Linked DNA regions of Homo sapiens: all the other regions are linked to region 3. The links are contacts of gene promoters, found by promoter capture Hi-C in blood cells and fetal thymus (Javierre and others, 2016). All regions are on one chromosome and are shown on one strand. The core of a region is centred on a gene start or on the middle of the fragment in contact, and the rest is flanking DNA. Distances in the headings are between cores, read along the strand shown.

Region 1 (3,602 bases), core at 358-2,857, 1.0 Mb before region 3:
AGCTGTGCCTAGCAAGAGTAAGGCTCTGGCATTTGGTAGTCATGTTATGTGGGGTAATGCTTGGCTGGTTCTGAGTTTATCTTTAGGATAGGTATTATTATAGCTATCCTTTTAACTTGGGAAGAAGTGCAGTGAAAGTTAAAAAAACGAAACAGAGCCCTACTTGAAAAAGTTTAAAGTGCCTTAAAATGTGATTGTTACCTCAGACTCTTCATCTTGCATGAGCTGGGATGACTCATGCCACTTATGTGTGCACAGTAATTGCTGAGATTACTGGGCTTATGGCAGGGTGTTTGGGGCCTAATTCTCAGCTCTCAAGAGGGGATGAAAGTGAGTCAGGAACAGACTTTGACTCCTTTTTAATTGTTATGTGAGTCATTTGCATATTAATCTAAAGCCTAATTTGTTCAGCTCCCTGCTTCTTAAAAGTACATGCCAAATGACTGTTTGGTGCTTTTTAGGGACAGTATCAGGGTCTGTTCCCAGGCATTGGGAGTTGAGAGAGGGAAAAGTTGAAATAGGACAAAATATAAACAACTAAGATAGAGTTTTTTTTCAATAGGCTGGAGGACCTCGTAGTAGCATCTCTGGGTGTGCTGTCCCCTTATCATTTCACAATGCCTGACATTCCAACACAATGGATTCAAGTCCTTCTTTTTAATTTTTATTTATTTGTTTAATTTCAATAGTTTTGGGGGTACAGGTGGCTTTTGGTTACGTGGATAAGTTCTTTAGTGATGATTTCTGAGGTTTTTCATGCACCCATCACCTGAGCAGTGAACACTGTACCCAATATGTAGTCTTTTATCCCTCACCCTCCTCCATCCTTCCCTGCCAAATCCTCAAAGTCCATTATATCCTTCTTATGCCATTGCCTCCTCATAGCTTAGCTCCCACTTTTAAGTGAGAACATATGGTATTTGGTTTTCCATTCCTGAGTTACATTACTTGGAATAAGGGCCTTCAACTCCATCCAAGTTGCTGCAAAGGCCATAGTTCCATTCAATTTTAAGGCTGAGTAGTATTCCATGGTGCATATATACCACATTTGTTTATCCACTCATTGGTTGATGGGCATTTACATTGGGTCCATATTTTGCAATTGCGAGTTATGCTGCTGTAAACATGTGTGTGCATGTGTCTTTTTCATATAATGACTTCTTTTCCTTTGGGTAGATATCCAGTAGTGGGACTGCTGGGTCGAATGGCAGCTCTACTTTCATTTCCTTAAGGAATCTCCATACTATTTTCCATAGTGGTTATACTCATTACATTCCCACCAGCAGTGTGAAAGTGTTCCCTTTTCTCTGCATCCATGCCAATATCTATTATTTTTTGATATCTAAATTATGACTATTCTTGCAGGTGTAAGGTGGTATCTCATTGTGGTTTTAATTTGTCTTTCCCTGATAATTAGTGATGTTGAGCATTTTTTCATATTTTTCTTGGCCATTTGTATATCTTCTTTTGAGAATTGTCTACTCATGTCCTTTGCCCACTATTTGATGGGATTATTATTATTTTTTCTTGCAGATTTGTTTGAGTTCCTTGTAGGTTCTGGATATTAGTTCTTAGTTAGATATATAGTTTGCAAATGTTTTCTCCTACTCTGTGGATTGTTTTTTTCACTCTGCTGGTTATTTCTTTTGCTGTGCAGAAGGCTTTTAAATCAAGTCGTTCTTTAAAATGAAAATAGCTTTTGAGGGGAAAGGGGTGGGAAGTGGGACACCATACACTAGTTTTTGGTCAGAAAAATGATTTAGTGTATCAGTTCCAGTAAACAATGATGGTGTAGACATTGGATACTGAGCAGATTACCTGAGTCCAAATTCTTTGTGCAAATTCTTTAGCCTTTATGTTTCTCCATTTATTATACTGACATGAGGATAATGATGATGCTATCTAGTAGTTGCCATTAGGATGTAATGCACAACAATATGTCAGGAACATAGTGTAGTGCCTGCCTGGTAGTAATAAATGTTAGCTATTATTATTATTTCTCATTAATGTCAAGTGGCAATGGAGGGATAATTTTATAGCTGGAGCTGAGAGTGGCGAGAGGGAAAAGTTGAGATAGGACTAAATATAAACATCTAAGTTACAGTTTTTGTGTTTTTTTTCCCACAGGCTAGACCTAGCATCACTGGGCATGCTATTTCTTACTGTGTGCCAGTGTTTCAGACCAGAATGATAGATGCCTCCTTCACCCCTCTCTGGACTAATGGGCGATAAAGATTTTGTAATGAGACATGGAGAGATTGTTCTGTTTCCTACCTACTGCATCTGGTGTTTGCTTAGTTGACTGTCTTTTTTTCTCCAGGCAGTAAGTTACTTGAGGACACGGACTTTGTTGTATCAATCTTTTAAATATTACCACTAGCACAGAACCACTGAGAATATATTTATTTCTAAATAAAATATTCCTTGAATGAACAAATAAATAAATCTTCATATTTAATTCTTGAGGAAATCAGTTGTCTATATGTGTAGGCAGATATATTTAGATATTTATGTTCACAGCTAAATTTTTAAATAATCAAGATGATGCTAAATTCTATGTGCAAACTTGAGCAGATTCCAGAAATACTTACTCTGTTACTGGTCAGTGAAATTCACTTCTCCTTCAATTCTAGAGAAAACAAAAATCCCAAGCAAAATGATACAAGCCATTTAAACTCTCAAAAGTCTCAAAAAGTAGAAATGTTACCCACTGGAGCATAAGATGAACCAATTGAGGATGAGGATTTGAGAAATAAAATGTTTCATTTTTATCGACAGCGAGCCAGTATGATATTAAGACAAAAGACAGCCCTTGATGAAAGAGGCAGTCAATTCTATCTTTGAGAATTCAGTTTTAAAAAAACCAGATTAACTGGTGATTTTCCTGAAGTGACCTGTCAATTTGTTCCGATAGGTTAATTTGGTAGAATCAGCCTCAGATTGGTTTTTCAGCGTGTACCTTAATTGTATTACTTTTCAGCAAAATATTTCTGTCAATCAGAAAATGTTTTTAGAATTAACCTGCTTGCAACGCTGAGGTCAAGGAGAGCGGATCCCAAGGACAGCAGGGATCTCTATATATTGTGCACTAGGGAGAGAGCACCCTATGTGGAAATGTGGGGCTTGAAAATTCAGGGACCATGTTGGGCAGTAAGTTCATATTGATATATTTTCTTTTAGGAGAAGTCCTGGTACATCTGGAAGTGTAAAAAGTCATCAGTTCTAGTCTTGGCTCCCCCAGTTTCTTTATTTTGAAGGTTTATGACCTGAGGCAAGACACATCTTCCTATATCACTTTCCTTGACTAGAAAGTGTAAGAGCTGACACGGGAGACCTTATTTAGCCCCAACCTTATGTGAGTATACAAATTATACTCCCAAATCCGTTCCTGAGACATTGGGAGCTTTTAATGGTTTCAGGGATGTTTACAAAGTCAGAGCTATTTAATGTTTTCAGGAGCAGAGCTGTTTCCAATCCAGGGGCTATCTAAGGTGCTGTATAAAACATCTAGCCTTGGGGATGGGGGAGCAGCCAGGAGACTCGGTAAAGATGCATGAGGGTAGATTAGAAGTCTTTCCCCTAGCTGTGGTGGGCCCATTCTG
Region 2 (3,402 bases), core at 836-3,335, 1.1 Mb after region 3:
GCTCTGCCTCCCAGGTTCATGCCATTCTCCTGCCTCAGCCTCCCGCGTAGCTGGGACTACAGGTGCCCGCCACCATGCCCGGTTAATTTTTTGTATTTTTCATAGAGACTGGGTTTCACTGTGTTAGCCAGGATGGTCTCCATCTCCTGACCTCATGATCTGCCTGCCTTGGCCTCCCAAAGTGCTGGGATTACAGGCATGAGCCACCGCACCCAGCCTAATTAAAAAAAATTTTTTTTGTAGACATGAGGTCTCCCTATGTTGCCCAGGTTGGTCTCGAATTCCTGGGCTCAAGCGATCCTCCCACATCAGCCTCTCAACGTGCTGGGATGACAGGCATGAACTATCACACCTGGCTAATACTTAGTATTTTCTAAGTGTGTCATGTATGAACTCATTTCTTCCTTATGACAATTCTATAAGTACAGGTTCATGATCTATTATTTACAATTCTGAAATTGAAAATGGTCTGAAAACCACACTTTTAAAAACTCACCTATAGTCCCAGCTACTCATGAGGCTGAGATGGGAGGACTGCTTGAGCCCAGGAGTTCAAGACCAGCCTTGGAAACAGCAAAATGCCATCTCAAAATATATATATTTGGCAGCAAATCCTGGCCTGAACTGGCATATGCCTATCTATAGTCTTTTACTTATTCCTCTTAGTATGGTTAGTCATACATTTTGCTGCAGCTCTATAAATATATTTGATTATAGAGTACTGCCCTACAAGCTGTTGGGATGCTGCATAATACAAGGTATATTCATTGGATTTCTTTTCAAAACCTAAATAATTCTTAACTCAGAAAACCATCTGGCAGGGGTGATGAACTGGTATAGATAACGGTGGTGAACTGGTACTATTATTATCCCCGTTTCACAGCTGAATAAATTGAGACTAGAAATTGCCACTTACTCAAGTTTCCATTGTTAACAAAAACAGTAAGCAATGTAGTTAATAATATTTTTGAGGGCTTCTCGTGGCAGTCACTTGGTTAAATGTTTTATGTGCATTAATTTAATCATCACCGCAACCCTATGAGTACTATTATTATCCTCATTTCCCAGATGAAGCTTAGAGAGGTTCTAAAATTCCCCCTGGAGACACTGCGATTCAGTGTGGTGAGAAAGGATTTAAAAACAAGCCGGTCCAATATCAATATATTTGATTATTACACTATCCTTTACAAATCTACACCACCAGTCCTTTCCTCTCTTCTAATGCCATTTAGACTATATACCCAATTATCTGATAATAAAAAGATTTAAAAAATATAACTAAGATCATTTTACTCACTTGCTTAAAACTCTATGACTTTCTACTTCATATGGAGCAAAGTCCAAATTCCTTACGATGATCCCTTTCTACTTCTCCCATCTCATTTCCCAACAGAGCAGACTTCTCTTACGCCTTTGCACTACGTATACCCTCTTCCTGGAAGGCTCCCAGATTGTCACACATTTAGCTACCTCTTGTCATTTAGGGCTCAGCTTAAGCTAATCCTGTTTTTCCCTGATTTACCCAGTAAGAGTAGGTCTTTAATCATACCATTAATTCCATCATTCTCTTTACATAGCACATAAATATATTTTCAATGTTTATCTATTTTCTTTTTCCTTTCCTTTTAATGTAAATTCAACCAGAGTAGGCACCTTGTCTGTTCTGGTTTCTTCAGAAGTTCCAGTCTCTCATATGGTAGGTGCTTAATTTTGGCTAAATGATTGCTGTACACGATCAGTAAAAAGTATCTGCTTGTTATTGAATGGTGGGAGATAAACTGATGAGGCAAGTAGGTGACTAAAGTGAAAATGTAAAGATATCTTGAACATCAACTTGATTAGATTTTAATAGCATGAACACCGCCAAGCAGAGTTTCTGATACAGAGAGGTGACAAACATTTGTTGAATGACTGGACAATAAATATTATTACTAGCTTGAATCTTGAGGCAAATTACTTAACCTTTCTGAGCTTAGTTTCCTTGTCTACGAAGATTAAAACTAACTTTTCAAGGCTTCCCTACAAATTATATGGATAATGCATGTCATGTGCCCAGCACACAGCAGGTACTTGTTAGTTTCTTTCTCTTTACATACATATATACTACTTTATGGTTTACAAAGTTCTTGTAAGCTCTTCTAGATTCATGACCTCATTTTATTCCCACAATCTTCTGCAGTACTTCTCATTAGCCTCATTTTACAGATGAAAAACAGACTCAAGGATTGAGACATAGCCTCTTCAGGTAATGAGAAGCCAATGGACATGCTTTATAAGCATAGGAGCGACATGATAAAAAGCAGTGAGGTTTTTTGAAGATTAATCTGTTGGCCTATAAAATGGGCTGAACTGAAAATTGGAGAAATATTATTTTGACTACTAGCATAAAAATCAAGTTTAAGGGCCGGGCGCAGTGGCTCACACCTGTAATCCCAGCACTTTGGGAGGCCGAGGCGGGCAGATCACTTGAGGCCAGGAGCAGGAGACAAGCCTGGCCTACATGGCGAAACCCCGTCTCTACTAAAAAATACAAAAAATTGGCCCGGCGTGGGGCTCGTGTGCCTCCCAGCTACTCGGGAGGTTGAGGCACATTTAGAATCGCTTGAACCCGGTAAGCGCAGGTTGGCAGTGAGCCGAGATCGCGCCACTGCACTCCAGCCTGGGCGACAGAGCGAAACTCGGTCAAAAAAAAAAAATCAAGTGTAAGATGATAAGGGCCTGGCAGAAGTGTTTAAAAGCCTAATGAACTTAAAAATATTGAAAAGCCAGATAAGTCCCCCAAAGGAACAAAAATTTAAAAATGGTAGTTTTCAAATCTGGCTGGCTGAGAAAATGATGGTACAAACAACATAAACAATTGAGAAATCAAACTTGGCAAAATCGTTGGTCAGAAGACCTTCTCTCCAATACCTAGGCAGAACTTCTGGCAAATAATGACAAACATCTGAGCCATTTCTTCAGTGTCATAGCGACTTTTTGCTTTCACTCCTCCCACTGGCTTCACCACCTGGACAAGAGCATGTTAAGGTCCTTCTGATCTTGCTTCCTAGATGCAGTACGGTGGGAAGCAGAATCTGGGTAGTGTGGAATTAGAAACCAAGCTTTCGAAGTTCCAGGACTTGGACTAAATCGCCTTTTTCCTTCTCTGTCAAATAAGGGGACCCTTACTTCACCTCCTTCCCTAGTTTTAAGACTAGACACCCTCTCCACATCAGCACAAAGCGCTTTTATTTAGGCGCGTGCCGCCAAACCAAAGGCGCTCGCGCCGAGCTAAGCTCCTGTCGGTGAGCTTACGTCACTTCCGGCGCGCTGACGCTCAGTTGTGCGTGCCGACGCCCGCGTCAGCAAAGAGCGGAGCTGAGGGTACCCGGTTTGAAGTCGTGCGGGTCGGAGGACTGCCGC
Region 3 (3,492 bases), core at 150-2,649:
ACAGATCCTTCCTCCCTTCTGAGACCGACAAGAAAATCGCATAAAGGAGTACTAGTTAAGGTGTGGTCCATAGACGAGAGACTATCTGTGAACTGTTTGTGATCAGTAAATAAGAGAAATTGATGGGTGAAGCATGTGGGTGGGCTCCTGTAATCACAGCTAGGAGAGAGGATTGCTTGCGTTAGAGTCCATCCTGGTCAATAACGAGATACTCTCTCTAAAAACAAAACAAAACGAAACGAAAACTCAGCAGGCCACCAACTAGGATACTCCCTAGGTCAAATGACCGAGCCTCTAATTCTGTGATTGTTGTTGCTGTGCGCACGTTAATAAAACAAACAAACAAACAAAAAGTGAAGATGTTTAGAAAGTTTACAGTACTTTGGCATTGTCCTGATAATCCAAGCTCCTGATCAGCAGATTCTATTCAGCCAGGTATAGGGCAGTTCGAGTGTTGTCAAATTTGTGATTCCCATGAGGCCAGGCTGCTTACTGGTAATGCATAAAGGACCACATCCTGGTTCGCGAAGAGTTTGGGGGTAGAGGAAAAGGAGGGAGAAACTGATCCTTCATCACAGGTAGTTTGAGAGCACTGATGTAAACTATAGTCACACTTTTGTAGTATAATTGATTATTATCCTCAATAGATCATTTACACTAAGTCGGAAAAAAGTGGAAACATCAGATATGTGGGATATGCGTCACCTTGTACATTTCTCAGCTGGAAAAGTGTAAAACATCTCAATTTTGCACCTCCCTTTTCAAACATGTCTTTGGCTAAATCAATGTTGGCTCTAACCGCTCGTCCTAGAGCGAGTCCCGCCATCTTGTGGTTGAAGATGTTGACTGCCACAGAGAATAGCGGGCTTTGACATCAACAGTTCTGATTGGGTAAAAAGACCCTCGTCTTGGGGTAGTTCTCTTTTGAAGTCCTAGAGTCCGTCACACACAAACGCCTTCTTCCCGGTAAGTCCATTGTAAACAACGGAATGGACTTTAGGGAAAGGAAAGGAAAACGTGTTCTTTAAGACTCTTTAAATAGCGTTTTCACCCATTAGCAGAATTCTCTGATTCATGAGCAGCACTAAGTAGATACCGTGTGCGTGCATTTTGAATGAATTCATTTCTACACTATTTTATAGGAGTATTGAATAGTTGGGAATTGGAACCCCTCCAGGGGGAACCAAACATTGTCGTTCAGAAGAAGACAAAGAGAGATTGAAATGAAGCTGTTGATTTCAACACACAAATTCTGGTGGTAGATGAAAGCAAAGCAAGTAAGTTTCTCCGAATCCCTAGTCAACTGGAGGTAGAGACGGACTGCGCAGGTTAACTACAGCTCCCAGCATGCCTGAGGGGCGGGCTCAGCGGCTGCGCAGACTGGCGCGCGCGGACGGTCATGGGACTTCAGCATGGCGGTGTTTGCAGATTTGGACCTGCGAGCGGGTTCTGACCTGAAGGCTCTGCGCGGACTTGTGGAGACAGCCGCTCACCGTGAGTTGCCCCGGCTTCGCGCCTGGCCAACCTCATGCCACCCAGACCATCGGGCCACACTCCGGAGTAACTATTTCCTGATGGGTCTCGGTCAGGTCTCCCAGAGTCTCTGGGATGTCCCTGGAGGCTGATGCCCGCCGAGGTGTTGGTCTGATTCCTAGCGCGGGAAACTCGAAGGTTCTGGGGGTTGTTATCTGGTTCAGCTACTTTCCTGCAATGAGGGAACTGAGGCCTAACGAGGGCGAGGGATTTGCATAGGGGCCTACAGCTGATAGGTGACAGAAGCCGGAGCTGGACTCCAAGGGTACAATCTTCTAAGCTTCTAAGTTACTATCAGCCCTTCCTGATTCTCACGACAGTGTCTAAACAAATACTGGAATTTGGGGCACGGACAGGAAGCGCCGTGGAGGCTCGGAGAAGGAGGAGGACGTGGGAGTGTTGGAACAATACTATCTAGACAGAGAGAGGGTAGGTGGGGGCAGAGGACATACACAGCGGAGTGGAGGTGGAGGAGGAGGATAGCATGGCCCAAATCGAAGGGAAGCGAAAGCCTTGAGAGACGAGAACCTGTTTTAACTATTGGAGTTAGTCATGGGTTCTGTATTCCGTAGACTGTAAAGTGTTGGAATAGAGAGATTAAAAAGAATCAAGAGGTTCGTGTAGTAACATCTGCTCCTCAGAGACAGTTTTCAGCTCATTGTGAGTTCTGATTACTGATACTGTTCAGAGGTGGTGCTAGAAATGACAACCACTTCTTGGCAAAGTGAATCACACCACTTTTTTATTGTTCTCTTTATGAAGTATCCGTGGCGAAATGACTGTCCCTTTCCACTGCTGCCACTAAATGAACGTTATCTCTGTGGTACTTTGCTCATCAGCACGAAGACGAAAGTAGACATGATGATCTGGGCCATTTGGCGCTAATGTTCTTTGATCCTGTAAAATAAGTTTTCCTAGGTGTAGTTTGTCGCAATTATTACCTCCTCAATGAGGCTTTTCCTGACGCCATCCCATTTTTGAATAAATCATGAGCTTCCTAAGAGAATTGCCATGTCTTATCCTTTTATTTACTGTGCTTAACACGTTCACTCTGCAGGCACCAGTACATGGCAGTTACTCAGTTAATGCTTGTGGAATAAACTGAACACATTAAAAAAATTAATACAAAAAAGAAAAGTTAATAATGATTTCTTTAGAGAATTTCCCCCAGTTTAAAATACACTTGGAAGAGGTGTGGTAATATATGTACATTGTTAGTGGTTATTTGTTTGTAAATTAAATGGAATTCATGGCATATAAAGTTGCCTCAACTTACAAGTCAAAGACAAAGGACTGCTCTGCTATTTGATGAGTCTGGAACTAAATAGTGGACATTTGCAAAGAATAGGAAAGACAGAGCCCTGGTTCTCAGTTTCTGATGTGATACAAGAAACCAATAATAAGCTTCAGAAATATACTGTGTAAATTAAAATACCCTAAAGCCTGATTGGGGAAGTAAGTACTCCTAAGCTGCCAGATGAGGAGTAGTCTAGGAAAAAGTTTTGTGGAGAAACAGATCCTAGTTGACATTTCTGTAGAACGGTAGGGACATTGTTTAGTAGCCAAAAGGATATCCTAAATGGGTATAACAAGGAAGTTTAGAGCAGATTTGGGAGTGTGGTAAAGAAGAATAGGGAGGAGGTGTGGCTGGTTGATTTGACTAACTGGGTGCAAGGTGAAGCCCAAGGTACAGGCATACTTGTGATTTTTTTTTTGTTTTTAAGGGTAACTTTCTTCAGGGAGCCTTTTGTGACCCCTACACCAGGTTTCACTGTGCTATGTACTTCCATAGAATCCTTACTTATAAAAAACATGTATTTATATACAATGACTTGCTTAATTGCCTTATTTGCCTTCGTTCTCCAACAGACTAGGCTGTAAATTTCTTGTGGAGAAGGATTATATTATTTATCCTGTATGCTCAACACCAGTTTAGGGCTTGTCAAGTAATGGATGCTC
Region 4 (3,495 bases), core at 188-2,687, 1.0 Mb before region 3:
AAACCTGGTGTGGGAAGGAATCTTTTTACATGATGTAATTTGCAACCTCATTCTGAGAAGAAATTAACATTCCTGACAAAATGCTTAAGTAATATTCTGGAAAACATTAATGGACCAAAGTCTTGTTCTAGGAAACCAGTCACCTATCTACCCCACTGAATGACATTCAACAATCTAGTGGCTTTTAACAAACATTCTCTTCTTTTTGTATTTTCCTATCAAATGTTCTTATGAAGAATGTATTAATATTTCTGATTGGCTTACTGGAGGCCTTTGTCCTTGAAGCAAGATTGTAACAAACTTTGACAGTGCCCATAACTAAAATGTCTGAAGGGTTTTTGTGAACACTCTAGACTGGTGTATTTGCTGTGGAATCAAACTTTCTTATCAATCCAGTGGATGTGGATCCCCTCACCTGCCTACTGCTTACCAACCTCCTCCCTGCTTCTTCGTCATTTCTTCCACCCCTCAGTATTTCTGTTCCTTGTTGATCTGGACTGGAGACATTGAGATGGCCTAGGCCCACCCAGTTGGAGCCCTGTTTTGGAGTATCTTTTTCCTTAGATGGTTGTGAGTCACTTCTCAAAGGCCAAGTGGAATTTTTCAGGAAAAATATCATGGGAAGGATACCTCATGAGGATAAGCTTAACTGTCCAAGATTTATCCTGAAGAGAGGGAAGGATGCACTGGGAGATAAACACCTGGCTGTTTTAAAAGGTCATTCATTCACAGTCTGATCTGGCTATCAATAGAGACCGTTTCACTGAATCCTGGAACACAAGAGAGAGTAGTTAGTTACCTTTGCAGCTTAAGAATGCTTAAGCCAAGTAAGAGAAAATACCACTTCCTCTGGTGGACAGTAAGTCAAGGGAAATATTATGAGTTTAAAAATGTTTTTATATATTCACAAATAAAAGAACCATGATTAAGAGACTCTGAAATGCTTGGAGAAACACTGTTCTTGTTAACATTATAGTTAGGGGCAAATCACCTCCCAAATGAATTGTTGAAGATGCTATTGGCCTGAATGGACCATTGATCCAATCCAGAAAATTATCATTTCTTTTTGTTTTGGCTGGAAGGCTTAGCTTTTAACATTTTGACAACAATTATAGAGAAAGAGCAATATTGCTTATTTAGCATCCTGCTGAATTTCCTTATTGTAGAATTTTCATCTAGAGTTTGGGTAACTCTAAAATGCTTCAGAGGTATTAACAACATTGCAGTCTTCACCAAGTGAGGAAAACCTACAAAAAATGTGTGTGTAGGTGCAATGAAAAATTTTCAAGTCAATGTAAATGTGTTATAAGAGTGGAGAACCTGGAATTTTTAGAAGTAACTCAGCCCTAATACTTTCTGTCAAAATATAGAAGGCCACAGCTTTAGAAAATAAATACAAAACCTCAAACTTCTGTCCCTTTGAAGAATAAGAAAATATGAAACATAAAAATAAAATATCTGGAAAATACAGAGACATTTTGTTTTGCATCTTCATTTTCTTATTATTGACAAATTGAAAATTCCTGTTTTGTATTAAGCACAATGTTTGCTGTCATAAAACGTTTAAGCAGTGTGATCTGGGTTTATTTTTTGGAGTTGCCATCAGGGAGGACAGATTGCTTTTTTAAAAGTTACATTTCATTTTTTAAACCTTGAGCTAAAAAGCCTTTGGAGAATTGGGGGCACTGTCAGTGAGGTGCCTAACTCCTAGGGAATAGAAATAGAATGGCCTGGATGAAATATTTTTGTAAACTTCTCAAAATTCAAAAGTGTAACTATATGAATTTACTTTCTATTTAGTCCAGTGGATAAAAAGTGAAAGTTTGCCTTAAGGTTCAGAGTCTTGTGCTAAATTTGTTCAAAATTTCATGTGAAATAGTTACCAAATGGATACTTCCACCACACTTATCTACTTATGGTATCTGGTATTAAAAATAAAACCAAAGGAAGAAAAAGGCTGCTAATAATGGCAATGAAAACAGCTCATTCATTGGCTTTATTCCTTAGGCAAGGATTTCCAGAGCACCTTGATAGGTCTTAAGGATGTCAGATAGTGGGCATAGAGTGATGAGGAAGACAGGCACCATCCTTACCCTCATGGAGACTCTAGTTTAGTAGGAGAGGCAGGCCAAATGTGCAAAGGCCTGCAGGAGGCAGGAAAGGGACCTAAATTTGTGAAATGGTGTGAATTGATGGGAAGTGTGACAAACCAAAAAGAGAATGCACTGATTAAAGCTTTTCAAAAGAAATACTGTGTGGACCATGGAATGCATCTGTAAGCAGATTAGTCCTACATACCATTTGAAACCTCTACATTAAAGGAATAATTGCACAAATAACCATGCTAACCATGCAGGAAATAAGGACTATAAGGCATAATCCAAGATGTCATGAGAAAGTATAGTCATGATTCCTGACTATAATTCCTGAGGAAGTTGCATTTTACCAGAGACCCGAAAGATTTGATTAGTAGACTTAGTAGGCAGTAGGGACTGGAGACAGAAGATTTAAGGTGAATCTAACAGTAGAGGGCACAGGATATCTGAAACTTCCATGTGATTGGAGCCCAGTGAGTGAGGGGGGGAAGCAGCGAGGGATGAGCTGAAGTTTTAGGAGCCAGACAATGTAAGATTGAATAGGCTATGTTGAGAATTTAAACTTACTCTAAAACTAATGGGAATTTCTTAAAGGATTGTAAAAAAAAGGGAGGATTCGATCATATATATATATATATATATATATACACACATATATATGTATATATACATATATATGTATATATACGTATATATACATATATATATTACAAGCATGTTCTTATTGAGGTGTGGAGAATTCAGCAGAGGAAGAGGTCAAGGTGGGATGTGGATAGAACAGTTAGGAAGCTGTTGCAGCAGTTCAGGTGAAATGGACTGGGCTTTGGTCAGGTGGTTGGCCATTGAAATACAGAGACATTTTATCATTTGGGATTTGGAGTAGCTGTAACTGAAACTCCAAATTACAGTGGCTTGGACAGATATTTATTCCTCTCTCGCATAACTGAAATCTGTACATAGCCTAGAATTCAATTGGTGGCTCCACCATTCTTAGGGACCAGATTCCTTCCATTTTGTCAATACGTGACTTCAACCTCCTCATTGACGGTGGCTGCTTTAATTCCAGTCATGTTGTTTTCATCCCAGACAACGTGAATGATGAAGGGAGGAAAAAAGATACATCCCTTTCCTGTAAGAGAATTTCTAGAAATTATACGTGATGCTTGCAGTTACAGCTCATTGGAAAGCACTCAGTAGCATGGCCCCATGTGATTACAATGGAAGATAGACAATAAAATGTTTACTCTAGGTTACTACAGGTCTAGTTGAAAATCAGGACGTCTATGACTAAGGTTGAAAGGAACAGAAAACGTTGATAAATAGCCAACATCTGTAATACAAGTAGATAAAGTTGAGACTTGTTTTGGAAATAAAGTTAGCAGGATTTGATAACTGATTT
Region 5 (3,526 bases), core at 702-3,201, 1.1 Mb before region 3:
AGATTAATTTTTAAAATTCTGCTGCTCTGATAACCACTGTTAATCCATCACTTAGTATCACTGGTCTCCCAGCTTGCCCCTCTTGTCATCTCCCATCCATTCATACATGACAGAATGTTCTTTTCAAAGTGCAGATTGAATTATGTTACTCCTCTGATCCTTTAATGATTTCTCATTCTTCTGAATGACCTGATTTCTGACTCTCTCCAATCTATCTCTTATTATTCTACGGTTTGATAACTAGCCAGCTTCAATCCTGCTAACTTCTGACAGTTCCTAGAATTTGCCAGCTTCTTTCTTACCTTCATATCATTGATTTCTTTTGCTTTTTCCTGTGCTTTCTTTTATCTGGAACACACCCTGGCTTTTGTCTTAGCTGGCCCCTTACCCTTGAGCCCTCATAGCTGATGGAACGTTATTAGGGAGACACCTTCCTTCATCACCCTGTCACTACCCCTCATCCCCAGCATCACTTAATCTTTATTATTCAATCCTATTTTTTGTCTTAGCACTTTTTAAACTGTAATTCTTTGCTTTCTTATTATCTTTTACACTAGAATATAATCTGCACGGACAAAATGTCTGTCTAGTTCATACTGTCAGCTCTTAGTATAGTGGCTAGCACATAGTAGTGATGAGTTTGGCTCTAGGCCAACATATGTATGATTTTTAAACATTTCTATTTTTTTTAGGCTGTACCATAGGCAATTACAAAGACTTACCTGACAAGCTTCCCTTCCTACACCAGACTTGATGCATAGCCAATGCATTATAATCTCTTAAGGGAGTTATAGTCAAGGATCCAGCATCCCCCAAGCTAGTCATGCTCTTACTCATATTTGCATATTTAGCCTGAGTGCCTCCATTCAGAGCCTCTTTATTGAGGCCTTTGGTGGAGGCCTTCTTATGGAGGGGAACAGGAGGGGGAACCTTGAAGACGCTTTTCTCCACTGTAACTCGGTACTTTTCCACGTATAGCTCCCTCCAACCTCCAGCCCTGAGGTCTATAAAACTGCGAGAGCCTTTTGTTTGGGGCTGCCTGGGTGGTAAAATGACCACCACTTCTATGCTGATCTGTATTATTCTGTGGTGGACTATAGAAGAGGGTGGGTAGGAGCTGGTGCTTTCTCAGGTTTAGTCTCTCGCATATACTGTTGAAATAAGTGGTTAAAAAGCTGGGTTGTTACTTTCATTTTGGCTTGTTGTCTTAACTGGCTTCTCCGATACCTGGACTCTCAGCTCTCTCAAGCCCAGCTCAGCCCTTAACAAGTAGTCTTCTCAATTTAGTCTAATGCCTTAAATGTTTTTTCTATTTAAAAAAAAATATTTGATATCACATGTGTGTGAATTTCTATCCAGGAATTTTCCCACATGGAAATATGTTTTCTATTAAAAAAAAGTACTATGTACTATGTACATAGTAAGGAATTTAAAAATTCCTATTCTACTTCCCTAAAAGCAATCAGCTGTTAACAGTTTGGTTTCTCTCCATTTGTGTGTGGACTTGAAGTAAAGGGTTTACAAAGTATTTTCATGCAGCATTCATTGTGCATAACTTTATGCATGAGCATTGAACTAGATCATCTACCACCTTATTTTTAATGCTGCATGATCCACTATGTATATATCCTGCTCTTTTGCTTAACATAGCATAAACATTTTCCAAGTCATTAAAGATGCCTGAGGTTTTTTACTACATTGAACATTAATCAAATGATACTTTATTTGCTTTTTTTTTGCTGTCGATCATTATTTCATGTTCTCTTGACATTTACTTTTTTTCTTTGTGATTTGTCTATTCATGCCCTTTCACCATATATATATTGCAGTGTTTTTAGTTTGTGTATGTTCATTCTTTATTAAGGATTTCAAACCATCTTTATTAAGGATTTCAAATCACCTTTGCAATTAGAAAATTATTTCAGGAACTAATTAACAATTTTATTTTATAGCAAAGAAGATAATTGAAACAATGAGCTCTTCAAAGCTCTCAAATGTAGAAGCAAGTAAAGAAAATGTGTCTCAACCAAAACGAGCCAAACGGAAATTATACACAAGTGAAATTTCATCTCCTATTGATATATCAGGCCAAGTGGTAAGCTAGTATTTCTGTTTTCATCAATGTAGAACTGTTCGTGTTCTTTTTAATTTTTTACAGTGGTTTGAATTTCAATTCTTTAGATCTCTGAAAACACATGCTATAAAGGTCATGCTTTTAGTCTCACATGTGTTAAGTTTATACTAATTAAATATAAATACTGTATTAAATGTATATAAGCGTCATGCATTTGCATTTGAAAATGCATCAGAGGAATTTATTTCCAATAATAGAATTGTCACTATTTAGTAACTTATTTGCCTCCACAATCTTTTTTTCTTTTTCTTTCTCTTTTTTAAATCACGGGAGTTGTACAAATCTGGGCCCAAGTGTTCCTGGTAAAAATATAAAACTGACATTCAGCCATTTCCTCCCACCTTTCCCCTAAGCCTTTGAGGATCTATTAGGAAGAGACTGTAGTTATCACCCTGAGTCTATGATTCATTCTCCTGATTCAGAACAGTATGTGCTGTCACAGGGAAAGCTCAAATTTTCTGTCATGCTTGCATTTGCTTAGTGGATGAAAGTGAAGGTAAAAAAATAATTAAAAGAAATTAAAAAAATTAAAAAGAAGTGGCCAAGAAAAATCAGGAGAAACCTTTTTTGCCACAAGAGCTTTCAGATATGAGATTGACACTTGAATGCAAGATGTAAAGAGTTAGGGTAAATTAGGGCATGGTGTTGTAAGTACCATTCTGTCAGTCATTTTTGAGCATCTGTTTGATTAGTACCTGATTTCTTCCCTTGGCTGAAAATTGTTTTCTTAGTTACTATATAATGTGCTTTCTACTTTCTAAGTTATACATTTGTTGCCACGAAAGATCATTTCTTAAAAATTATTTGAGGCACTTGTCTCCAAATATTTTAGTAATTATTTTAAGTTATATCTGCCTTGAATTCAATATGGAGTCTAGGTTATTTTACTTCTAGAATTTGATAGTGTTGAATCTTTTACAAAGTCTGTTTTTTAAATAAATTTTTATAGAAGATGGCATATCTGTAGTCTAAGTAAAAAAAATTCTCCAATGTATCATTTCAGTTACTAAGCACATGAACATGTCTTACTCATTATAAACAAGCTTTTATTTTTATTTTCACTTACAAGCTTTGAAAAACTATGAAATTTTTAATTTCAGATTTTAATGGACCAGAAAATGAAGGAGAGTGATCACCAGATTATCAAACGACGACTTCGAACAAAAACAGCCAAATAAATCACTTATGGAAATGTTTAATATAAATTTTATAGTCATAGTCATTGGAACTTGCATCCTGTATTGTAAATATAAATGTATATATTATGCATTAAATCACTCTGCATATAGATTGCTGTTTTATACATAGTATAATTTTAATTCAATAAATGAGTCAAAATTTGTATATTTTTATAAGGCTTTTTTATAATAGCTTCTTTCAAACTGTATTTCC
Region 6 (3,635 bases), core at 831-3,330, 1.0 Mb before region 3:
TCTTCAATCTGTTGATGGACACTTAGGTTGATTCCATGACTTTTCTATTGTGAAAAATGCTGTGATAAACATATACTTGCAGTTATTTTCTTATATATGTATTTTTTTTTTGAGACAGAGTTTCGCTCTTGTTGCCCAGGCTGGAGTGCAATGGCTCGATCTCAGCTCACCGCAAACTTCGCCTCCTAGGTTCAAGCGATTCTCCTGCCTTAGCCTCCCCAGTAGCTGGGATTACAGGCATGCACCACCACACCGGCTAATTTTGTATTTTTTAGTAGAGATGGGGTTTCTCCATGTTGGTCAGGCTGGTCTCGAACTCCCGACCTCAGGTGATCCACCCGCCTTAGCCTCCCAAAGTGCTGGGATTACAGGTGTGAGCCCCTGCACCTGGTGGCAGTTATCTTTTTTATGTAATGATTTCTTTTGGGTGGATACTCAGTAGTGGAATTACTGGGTCAAATGGTAGTTATATGTTTAGTTCTTTGAGAAATCGTCATACTGTTTTCCATAGAGGTTTTACTAATTTGCGTTCTCAACCAGAGTGTGTAAGTGTTCTCTTTTCTCCACATCCACACCAACATCTACTATTTTTTGACTTTTCAATAATAGCCATTTTGACTCGTGTAAGATGATGTCTCATTGTGGTTTTAATTTGCATTTCTCTGATGATTAGTGATGTTGAACATTTCTTCATATATTTGTTGGTTGCATGTATGTCTTCGAGAAATGTCTGTTCTTGTCCTTTGGCCACTTTTTGATAGGGTCATTTTTTTTTCTTGTAGAGGGGTCTGAGTTTCTTGTAGAGGCTGGATACTAGTCCTTTGTTGGAGCCATAATTTGCAAATTTTTCTCCTATTCTGTGGGTTATCTGTTTAATCTTTTTTTTTTCTATGCAGAAGCTTTTTAGTTTAGTTAAGCCCCATTTATCTGTTTTTGTTTTTGTTGCATTTGCTTTTGAGGCCTTAGTCATACATTCTTTGCCTAGGCCAGTGTCCAAAAGAGTATTTATTTTCTAGGTTTTCTTCTAGGATTTTTATAGTTCCAAGTCTTACATTTAAGTCTTTAGTTCATTTTGAGTAATTTTGTAGAAAATGAGAGATAGGAGTCCAATTTCATTATTTTGCATATGGCTAGCCAGTTTTCCCAGCACCTTTTATGGAATAGGGTGCCCTTTTCCCATTGCTTATTTTTGTTTACTTTGTCAAAGGTCAGCTGGTTGTGGGTATGTGGCTTTATTTCTGGTTCTCTATTTTGTTTCATTGATCTATGTGTCTATTTTTATACTAGTACCATGCTGTTTTGGTTACTACAGCCTTGTAGTATGATTTGAAGTCAGGTAATGTGATACCTCCAGCTTTTTTCTTTTGCTTAGGATTGCTTTGCTAATCTGGCTCTTTCCTGGTTCTGTATGAGTGTTAGAATTGTTTTTTCTTTTTCTGTGAAAAATGACGTTGGTAATTTGATAGGAACTGTACTGAACCACAGATTGCTTTGGGCAATAAATTATTGCCATATTAAAGATATTGATTCTTCACAATTCATGAGCATGGAATATTTTTCTTTTCTTTTTCTTTTTTTTTGAAACAGGGTCTCACTTTGTTAACCAGGCTGGAGTGCAGTGGCACAATCATAGCTCACTGAAGCCTCAACCTCCCAGACTCAAGCAATCCTCCTGCCTCAGCCTCCTAGGTAGCTGGGATTACAAGTGTTAGCCACCATGGCTGGCTAATTTTTAATTTTTTTGTAGAAACAAGGTCTCTCTATGTTGCCCACGTTGGTCTCAACCTCCTGGGCTCAATGGATCCTCCTGTCTTGGCCTCCCAAGGTGTTGGGATTACTGGCACGAGCCACTGTGCCCAGATGGGATGTTTTTCTGTTTGTGTCGTCTATGGTTTCTTTTATTGGTGTTTTGTATTTCTCCTTGTAGGAATCTTTAACCTCTCTGGTTAAATATATTCCTAGGTATTTAATTTTAGTTTTATTATATGTAGCTATCGTAAATGGAATTGAATTCTTGATTTGGTTTTCAGCTTGAGTGTTATTGGGGTATATAAATGCTACTGATTTTTGTACATTGGTTTTGTATTCTGAAACTTTACTGAACTTTACTGAAGTCATTTATTATGTCTAGGAGTATTTTTAAGGAATCTTTAGGGTTTTCTAGGTATAGGATCATGTCATCAGTGAAAAGAGATAATCTGACTTTTATTTTTTTTTCAGTTTGGATGCCTTTTATTTCTTTCTCTTGCCTGATTGTTCTGGCTAGGTCTTCCAGTACTATGTTGAATAGGAGAGGTGAGAGTAGACAGGCTTGTTCAGTTTCAGGTCATAGGGGAAATGCTTTTGGCTTTTCTCCTTTCAGTATGATGTTGGCCATGGGTTTGTAATGTGTGGCTTTTATTATTTGGAGGTATGTTCCTTCAATGTCTAGTTATATCATGAAGGGATGTTGGATTTTTATCAGATGCTTTTTCTGCATTTATTGAGATATGTTTTTTGTTCTTAATTTTCTTTATATGGTGAAACACATTTATTGATTTACATATGATTTACATATGTTGAACCATCCTTGCATCCCTGGAATAAAAACCACTGATCACTGTAATGAGATGAACAGGGTACCTCAGTTAGGAATGCAGAAATCATCCACCTTCTGCGTTGGTCTCACTGGGAGGTGCAGACTTGGGCTGTTCCTATTTGGCCATCTTGCCAGATCTCTCCCCCAATTCCCTGATTCTGTCAACAAAGACCCTGTGCTCAGATGGGAAGTGCCTTGTTTAAGGTTACACAAACATAACTTGAGCTTTAAGTAAGTGTGAGCCTTAGGAGAGGAGAGAGGAGAGAGGAAAGAGGAGAGAGGCCGGGTTTGGCAGGGGTGGTGGAGTGACTGTGGGAGAAGGCAAACACAATTTATGAAACAGAGTGTGTGTCATAGATTCAGGGAAGGAAGCAGGCCATTTATCTGAGGTGGATGGTTTGTGTAATGGAGTTAGCTGTGAGATGAGATGGGTAAGAGGTTGGGGCCAGATTATGGAAAGCCTATGTATGAAATGAGGAGCCATTGAAAATGTTTGAAAGGAATGCTAGGAGATCACAAGAAATAATAACTGAGAATTACAGCTGATCCTGAGGTTGCTCAGAGGTTTGCTCAGAGGTTGCTCAGAGGCTTTCATTCTACTTTAACCATAACTTAACAATAAAAAATACATTTTACACTGAATCAGCACATGCACACACACACACGCACACACACACAGAAACTTAAGCTTGACAAGACAAGGATTAACCTATGTGTGCTATACTCTATTTTCCACTTCATTCCACTAAACTCTAAGCCTCCCTTTTTTGGAGACTGAATTTATCCGGGGGAGGGGACTGGTGGACGGCATCCTAAGTGAAAGGCGTAGCGTGACAAACTCCGGGAGCTTTGAGGGCAAAGTGTGATCTGGGTAGGTTTCCAGATTTAGTAAATAAAAATAGAGAACACTCAGTTCAATTTGAATTTCAGATAAACAATATTCCATAGCTTGGGAAGAGCAAGACATTCTGTGTGGCTGGAACACAGGTGGGTGTGAGAAAATGGCAGAGGCGAGTCTGGCGTGTATTGGGATCATGTTGTGAATGCTTATGAGAGA

Evidence for each region. The method cuts DNA at HindIII sites, captures the fragments that hold promoters and counts their contacts. A CHiCAGO score of 5 or more calls a contact.
Region 1: a contact is called between a fragment that was not itself captured here and the fragment with the promoter of RPP30 in region 3, in 1 of 17 cell types (M0 macrophages). The highest score is 5.0, in M0 macrophages.
Region 2: a contact is called between a fragment that was not itself captured here and the fragment with the promoter of RPP30 in region 3, in 8 of 17 cell types (naive CD4 T cells, fetal thymus, non-activated CD4 T cells and 5 more). The highest score is 11.8, in naive CD4 T cells.
Region 4: a fragment that was not itself captured here is called in contact with the fragment with the promoter of RPP30 in region 3 in 7 of 17 cell types (M0 macrophages, naive B cells, naive CD4 T cells and 4 more); the score reaches 8.3 in M0 macrophages.
Region 5: a contact is called between a fragment that was not itself captured here and the fragment with the promoter of RPP30 in region 3, in 15 of 17 cell types (total B cells, total CD4 T cells, naive B cells and 12 more). The highest score is 13.4, in total B cells.
Region 6: a contact is called between a fragment that was not itself captured here and the fragment with the promoter of RPP30 in region 3, in 1 of 17 cell types (non-activated CD4 T cells). The highest score is 5.3, in non-activated CD4 T cells.

The regions. Positions count from the first base shown.
Region 1 is chr10:89,861,877-89,865,478 of GRCh38, forward strand. The region is part of intron 1 of LINC01374 (long intergenic non-protein coding RNA 1374); the gene reads left to right. Among named protein-coding and RNA genes, the nearest start is that of LINC01374, 9.8 kb to the left of the region's middle. The HindIII fragment of the contact is 8,705 bases long and covers 1-3,602 here.
Region 2 is chr10:91,920,452-91,923,853 of GRCh38, forward strand. It overlaps BTAF1 (B-TFIID TATA-box binding protein associated factor 1), which reads left to right and starts at 3,319. Exons shown (of 38, transcript NM_003972.3): 1 at 3,319-3,402. RefSeq lists enhancers at 2,061-2,594, 2,942-3,051 and a silencer at 3,302-3,402. The HindIII fragment of the contact is 2,027 bases long and covers 1,073-3,099 here.
Region 3 is chr10:90,870,575-90,874,066 of GRCh38, forward strand. It overlaps RPP30 (ribonuclease P/MRP subunit p30), which reads left to right and starts at 1,400. Exons shown (of 11, transcript NM_006413.5): 1 at 1,400-1,494. The coding sequence starts at 1,413. RefSeq lists enhancers at 1,238-1,532, 1,251-1,520, 1,651-1,710. The HindIII fragment of the contact is 10,238 bases long and covers 1-1,811 here.
Region 4 is chr10:89,824,553-89,828,047 of GRCh38, forward strand. LOC105378424 (a long non-coding RNA gene) reads right to left here. Exons shown (of 3, transcript XR_946196.3): 2 at 631-770. Among named protein-coding and RNA genes, the nearest start is that of LINC00865, 3.2 kb to the right of the region's middle. The HindIII fragment of the contact is 1,591 bases long and covers 643-2,233 here.
Region 5 is chr10:89,770,737-89,774,262 of GRCh38, forward strand. It overlaps KIF20B (kinesin family member 20B), which reads left to right. Exons shown (of 33, transcript NM_001284259.2): 32 at 1,953-2,095; 33 at 3,235-3,526. The coding sequence ends at 3,312. Among named protein-coding and RNA genes, the nearest start is that of LINC00865, 57 kb to the right of the region's middle. The HindIII fragment of the contact is 2,447 bases long and covers 729-3,175 here.
Region 6 is chr10:89,841,911-89,845,545 of GRCh38, forward strand. No RefSeq gene overlaps it. Among named protein-coding and RNA genes, the nearest start is that of LINC01374, 10 kb to the right of the region's middle. The HindIII fragment of the contact is 2,367 bases long and covers 898-3,264 here.